Linked DNA regions of Homo sapiens: region 1 is linked to region 2. Evidence: promoter capture Hi-C in 16 types of primary human blood cells and fetal thymus (Javierre and others, 2016). All regions are on one chromosome and are shown on one strand. Each heading gives the region's core, a stretch centred on a gene start or on the middle of the fragment in contact. The rest is flanking DNA. Distances are from core to core; before and after follow the strand shown.

What was found. Contacts are between HindIII fragments. The CHiCAGO score rates a contact against its expected background, and 5 or more counts as called.
Region 1: a contact is called between the fragment with the promoter of LRRC40 here and a fragment that was not itself captured in region 2, in 1 of 17 cell types (monocytes). The highest score is 5.1, in monocytes.

Annotation. Positions count from the first base shown.
Region 1 is chr1:70,203,895-70,207,509 of GRCh38, reverse strand. LRRC40 (leucine rich repeat containing 40) reads left to right here and starts at 1,931. Exons shown (of 15, transcript NM_017768.5): 1 at 1,931-2,120. The coding sequence starts at 1,970. It also overlaps a transcript of SRSF11 not described here. RefSeq lists enhancers at 1,708-2,017, 2,278-2,337. The HindIII fragment of the contact is 8,465 bases long and covers 1-3,615 here.
Region 2 is chr1:68,480,925-68,484,314 of GRCh38, reverse strand. DEPDC1 (DEP domain containing 1) reads left to right here. Exons shown (of 12, transcript NM_001114120.3): 7 at 225-365; 8 at 1,418-2,269; 9 at 2,703-2,875. It overlaps DEPDC1-AS2 (DEPDC1 antisense RNA 2), which reads right to left. Exons shown (of 2, transcript NR_198991.1): 2 at 611-1,554. Among named protein-coding and RNA genes, the nearest start is that of DEPDC1-AS2, 3.5 kb to the right of the region's middle. The HindIII fragment of the contact is 2,836 bases long and covers 1-2,790 here.

The DNA.
Region 1 (3,615 bases), core at 682-3,181, 1.7 Mb before region 2:
TTATGAAAAGCCACTAGGGAAGTCATGGTGATTAAAAAGAAAGGTTTTGGAGACAGATCTAGGTTCAAATTCCTGGTCGTGCTATTCAGAGAAACTTGTGAGGTTGGGTAAGTTTCTTCACCCCTTTTAGCCTCAATTTCCTTATCTGCAAAATTAGTCACTGTGTTAAATAAGAAATAGCAAACAGAGGTATTATTAGCACTGAGCCTGGTATGGGCCCAATAAGGCAGCTATTACCATTACTGTGAAGACAAGCTGACCAGGGACCTCATTAATAACGTTGCAAAAGCTGCTACGGTCGTTTTCCTTTAAAACTCAGGCTGGGCACGGCGACTGACACCTGTAATCCCAGCACTTTGGGAGGCCGAACTGGGCGGATCGCTTGAGGCTGGGAGTTCGAGACCAGCCTGACCAACATGGCGAAACTCCGTCTCTACTAAAAAATATAAAAATTAGCCAGGTGTGGTGGTGCGCGGCTATAATCCCAGCTACTGGAGAGGCTGAGGCAGGAGAATCACTTGAACCTGGGAGGCGGAGGTTGCAGTGAGCCGGGATCACGCCACTGCATTCCAGCCTAGGCGACAGACCAGACTTTGTCTCAAAAAAAAAAAAAAAAAAAAGACAAAAATCCACTCTTTGCTTTTTTAGTAGGGTAACAACTATTGGTAACTTTCTCTTGTTCGATATTAGTGTAAAGGACTCCACAGAAATAAGAACAAAAAGGGTAGAGTTAAAAACCGAATTTTACAGGTAGCAATAACCTGGACTCAGGTAAAAGTGCGTGATGAAGAATTGATCAAAGGGCCTTCATCCTAGCTTTCAACTATTCTACCAATCCTCAGTAGACTTGATGGGGGTTAGAATGGTATTCCCTGGCATATGCTTTTAAAACAAAATCATTTCAGGCAAAAGAAAAGTCTAGCACCCAGGATAGTACACATACTAGGCAGGATTAATCTTAATAATTACTTGTTGAATCAAGAAGTTGTACATTTCAGATGAAAATTTTAATTTCCTAGGAAACACCGACTTACATTGAACAAAATTTTCATTTGCTATTATTCTGGACTCACCGAGAGCTCAAGATTCTAGTTTTTATCTTCACTTATTTCAAAAACCTTATGCGGTAGGAATTATCCCCAAAGTAATGAAAAAAAGGAATGAGCTTTAAAAGCGGTTGAGTAAACTGCCTAAAGTTAACAGTTTCTAAAGTAAAGAAGCAGCTGAGATTTGAACTTGCTTTTTAGGGCTCAAAAATCCAAGCTGTCTGAGCTTCACTAAAGCATGTACCACTACTTGTCTCCCTAAACTGTCTGATACACAGAACATTTATTAAATTTTAAGGATTTTTGTTTTTGTCTTCTATGTTGCCAGTCCTTCCATTTCACATTACCTCCTTTGCTGGGTAAGCTATATACCCTCAATACAACGAGAATGGTGTCAGAGTACAAGCCTTAAGAACAGAAAATTTCTTTTACTCCGTACGCCAGAGGTCTGGCGCCACCACCACAAGCGACAAACACAGGCTGGGGTCCAGAAACGCTGCCGACCGCGCCCAGATCTCAAGTTTTAGTCAAGGCCCACGTTCAGACTAGGAGAGGGGAGAAGAGAGGGTTCTCTTTCCCCACACCCTCGCCACGGTGGAAGCACAGAGGAGAAGGTTGGAGTCGCAGTAACAGTGCAAACAATAAACCCGAAAGCCCCTCTTAAGCCCGTTAAACGCACTTACTTGATTGAAGTAATTCCAGGACGCTAGGCCGGCACCGGCAACGGAAAAGGCTTCTCTGTCCTCCAGCCCAGGCGCTGGTGCTGACGACATCTGGACTGCGCCGCAGAGAGTGAAGGCCCAGCGCGAGGCCGCGAGCCCAGCGCCCAGAGCGCGCGCTCACGAAAGGAGCGGGGCATCCCAACGGCGCCACCTTTAAGCGTCACGGGTGGGGCTGCAGCTTCTGGACCTAGGACTTTGAACATGTCGCGCCTGAAGCGGATAGCGGGGCAGGATCTCCGCGCTGGTTTCAAAGCAGGTGGAAGAGACTGCGGTACCTCGGTACCCCAAGGGCTGTTGAAGGCAGCGAGGAAGAGCGGCCAGTTAAACCTGTCGGGTAGAAACCTCAGTGAAGGTAAGACCCAGAGGTACGACCCTATTGTGTCTCCTGTCAGAAAGCCTTTGGCCCAGGCAACCTCCCTTTTCTCTGGGCTGGCTTTGGCCCCCTTTCTCAGACTGCTAGCCAGAATTTCTGTGCTCTAATCTAATCCCTGTGCTCATTTCGACCGGTTTGGTTAGCCCAGTTCAGTTCCTTCCCAGGTTCCCGCAATCTCTGTTAAAGGGACCCTGCTAAAAATACGGTCTAAATTTAAACGGGGCGCTTTCTGGGATTCCCACATTCTGTGGGATAAGCAACATAATATGTGACGAAACCAGCTATCAAATCACGGGCAAATCTTTTGTTTCTTTGGCCCTTATTTTCCTCCTCTTATTGTAATCTTCAAGGGCAATTACCAAAGCTAAAATTATATGTTTTATCGGCCCCTTTGTGAACCTGCACTGTTCCCTGCCGAGACGCTCTTCTGTATGCAGCTGTGCAGAGTTCTACTTACAAGGAATAATGAGTATATTTTCTAAGTTGAAGATCAGGATAGATGCCACACAGAGTGTTTGAATGTGGGGACATCCTGAGAAACCTGTTAAAGACCAAGAAGCACAAATCTGGGTACCATGAATGAATGGCCAGATGCTCTTCTGATTGTCGTGTGTGTGTGTGTGTGTGTGTGTGTGTAAGAGAGAGAGGGAGGGGAATGGAGAGATGGAGAAATAGAGCATTTTTCCTGTAATGTTTTTCTTCATTTATATTTAGGTTTTAAGACTGATTAAAACCTTCCATTTTCCTTCTAATGATTGCTTTCTTATTGTGACATGTATAAAGTAGATTAGGCAAGCAAATGCTTCTGAATGAATGAAAAGACACAGAATCCTTACTCCACCTAAAAGAGTTTTTGATCAATGGGAACATACTCATTTTCAAACTACAGTTGTGCATATATATATATCTACTTGGTTTCCCCAAAACCTGAAACATTTTTCTCTAAACTTGCATACCTATCATGCTAACATTCTGTTCTCTTACCTGTTTAATTTTTTAACAGCATTTATCACTATCAGAATTTATATCATTTATGTTTTTTGTTTTCTCTGCCCTCCAACCAAAAGGTTAATATCATGAAGTCAGTGAGCTTTGTTTTGTGCTTTGTTGTATTTCTATCACTGAAAATAGTGCTTGGTACATAGTAGAGTCTTATTAAATTTTGCGGAAGCAATAAGTAAGTGAATGAGTATTCTCAAATCATAAGTGGTGTGCTAGAATGTACTTATTGACTAGACTCAGGTGGTTTCGTCTGTTAAACTTTAAGAGAGCACATGGATTCTGACTCTTAGGTCCGTGATGATATGGATTAGAACTGCTTAGGTTATTGTTATATAACCAGAACCTAACACTTTACCTGGTACATAAAATGATTTTAAATGAGTGAATAAACAGCATTTCATAGGAGGGAAAGATATAAATGGCAGAAACTCATGGTATTTGTAGCTTATATATAAAAAAGGAATCCCTGTTA
Region 2 (3,390 bases), core at 123-2,622:
TTTTTCAGGTATACAAATGTTAAACAAAATACTAGCAATTGACTGCTTCCAGTGGAAAGATAATGAGGAAGAATGAAATACACCCTTTAAATTTTTGAACTGTGGCAGAATTTGTTGTTAAACCTAGCTCCTTCATGAAATACAGATTTTATACTTTTTATGTTTAAAAATTGTATTTAAATTAAAATATACTTTACCTTTTTCTCTTGCCTTCTACTTCTTAGGGCCAAGAAGCAATGATATGAATAATCCAACTTATGTTGGATTTGAACGAGATGTATTCAGAACAATCGCAGATTATTTTCTAGATCTCCCTGAACCTCTACTTACTTTTGAATATTACGAATTATTTGTAAACATTTTGGGTATGTATAGATTTTACTGATTTTAGTTCATTTTGTTAAAGTTTTCAACTTTCTTATAATTTAGAAGATCTAAAACCATAGGTAAATATAAAGGTGGCAGCCTACAAATTATTTTAAAATTCAGTGAAATAAGGTTCCGAGGTTACTCATACTTCCGCCCAGCCAACTACCAATTCGGGACTTCCCTCAACCCCCTACCAGACTCAATAATTCACTACAATGATTCACAGAACTCAGAAAAGCACTTTAACTATGACTATTAGTTTATTATAAAAGCTAGACCTCAAGAATAGCCAAATGGAAGAGTTACACAGAGCACGGTATGAGGGTGGGGGTGGCACAGAGTTTCTCTACCCTTTCTGGTCATGCCGTGATCCCAGCACATCCATGTGTTCACTAACCTAGAAAACTCCCTCAGCCTGCATGTTTTAGAGTTTTAATTGAAGTTTAATTACCAAGGCATGACTGACCAAATCATTGGTCACTGTTGTCAATTGAACTCAATCTCTAGCCCCTTTCTCCTCCCACAAGGTTGTAGTTGGTGATGAAAATTCAAACCATGGCCGGCCCTCAGTTACCTTAGCATGAACTCAGATACGCTGAAATAGGCTTGTTATGAGTAACTAAAGACTTCTATCATTCAGGAAATTTCAAGGATTTTAGGAGCTCCATACCAGGTACCAAGGACAAAGATCAAATATATGTATTTTATTATACCACAATTATCTTATATTTATGAGGTTTCTAGTACTTGCAGACTGAGAACAGATTTTTTAAATGTATTCTGGCTCAATCCATTTAATTAGGCTGTTGAAATAATTTTTTAAAGTTATATTACAAATGGGAAAACCACTCATCTGTCTTGCACGTTTGTAACCGAATGTTGCATGTGTCCTATTTAAGTGGCTTCTGAATTAAGCAACTACTGTGTATACTATACTAACAATATATACTATAGTAATGCTTTATTTTTTAACTTTACTATTGTTTTTGTTTTATTTTTGTCCACTGTCATACAGTTGCATCTTAATTTTTGTTTCATTTCCTGGTAGTTGTTTGTGGCTACATCACAGTTTCAGATAGATCCAGTGGGATACATAAAATTCAAGATGATCCACAGTCTTCAAAATTCCTTCACTTAAACAATTTGAATTCCTTCAAATCAACTGAGTGCCTTCTTCTCAGTCTGCTTCATAGAGAAAAAAACAAAGAAGAATCAGATTCTACTGAGAGACTACAGATAAGCAATCCAGGATTTCAAGAAAGATGTGCTAAGAAAATGCAGCTAGTTAATTTAAGAAACAGAAGAGTGAGTGCTAATGACATAATGGGAGGAAGTTGTCATAATTTAATAGGGTTAAGTAATATGCATGATCTATCCTCTAACAGCAAACCAAGGTGCTGTTCTTTGGAAGGAATTGTAGATGTGCCAGGGAATTCAAGTAAAGAGGCATCCAGTGTCTTTCATCAATCTTTTCCGAACATAGAAGGACAAAATAATAAACTGTTTTTAGAGTCTAAGCCCAAACAGGAATTCCTGTTGAATCTTCATTCAGAGGAAAATATTCAAAAGCCATTCAGTGCTGGTTTTAAGAGAACCTCTACTTTGACTGTTCAAGACCAAGAGGAGTTGTGTAATGGGAAATGCAAGTCAAAACAGCTTTGTAGGTCTCAGAGTTTGCTTTTAAGAAGTAGTACAAGAAGGAATAGTTATATCAATACACCAGTGGCTGAAATTATCATGAAACCAAATGTTGGACAAGGCAGCACAAGTGTGCAAACAGCTATGGAAAGTGAACTCGGAGAGTCTAGTGCCACAATCAATAAAAGACTCTGCAAAAGTACAATAGAACTTTCAGAAAATTCTTTACTTCCAGCTTCTTCTATGTTGACTGGCACACAAAGTAAGGCTGTTGCTTTCAATGCATGCAATATTAACTTTGAGTGTTTACTAACTCTGTGTTTTGCTTACCTGGCTTTTCTTCCTTGAAGTTGCTTAATTTTTTTTCCTCCAAGAGGAATTATTTAAAAAGACTTTTGTCTGTGACATAACCAAGATTTATTCTGTTTACCTAAGGAACTTATTTTCTTTTTTGCAATTTCATTTATTCTGAGTCACTTTATTTGTAATAAGTGAAGAATTTTAATACTTAGAAATAAGTTGTAAAGAAAATAATGAGAATCTTACCATGCTTTAGAGGAACGTAATTTCTAGAAATAGTTAAAAGATGAAATACTAAGATATTATTTTACCTTCTTTATATAGCTGTATATACTGGTAGTATGAAAGCAACTAGTGTCATTGATGATTTTTGGGGGGGTATTTTTGTATTCTAGGCTTGCTGCAACCTCATTTAGAGAGGGTTGCCATCGATGCTCTACAGTTATGTTGTTTGTTACTTCCCCCACCAAATCGTAGAAAGCTTCAACTTTTAATGCGTATGATTTCCCGAATGAGTCAAAATGTTGATATGCCCAAACTTCATGATGCAATGGGTACGAGGTCACTGGTAAGTTGATTTCTTATAGAAAGAATAAGTCTGATTCATAAACCAAAATAACAAAACCAAACTACGTAAAAGTACTACTCAAGTGATGTCTTAGTCTTAAAGTGCTAGATTCTTAGGTTGGAAAGGCTCTTTAACCTTTCCTAGCAGCAGAATTTTGGTGTATTAATCTTTTGTGCACACTCTGTTATACTTTCACATGCTGATGTTAATCCTGGCTAAGGACTTTGCCTGCTCATTCATCCTGAATCACTTCATAGTGATTGACCAGTCAGACCACGTTATGTTGCCTTGTGCCAATTCTGTTTGGTGGATAAGGAAGAAGAAATGTAGGTACTGTTGAAAGCCTAAGGAGACTATAACTGTGGACGCAGAGAACTAATGGAACTTAATACAGTAAGTCAGTGTTTCAGAGAATATAGTAATGGAAAAGTAGGTCATCGTGGACAAGAAGTTGGGAAGCACTATTGCCAAACAGCCTTAGGCTCCTTGTGAAAATGAGGATAAGGGCATTTATA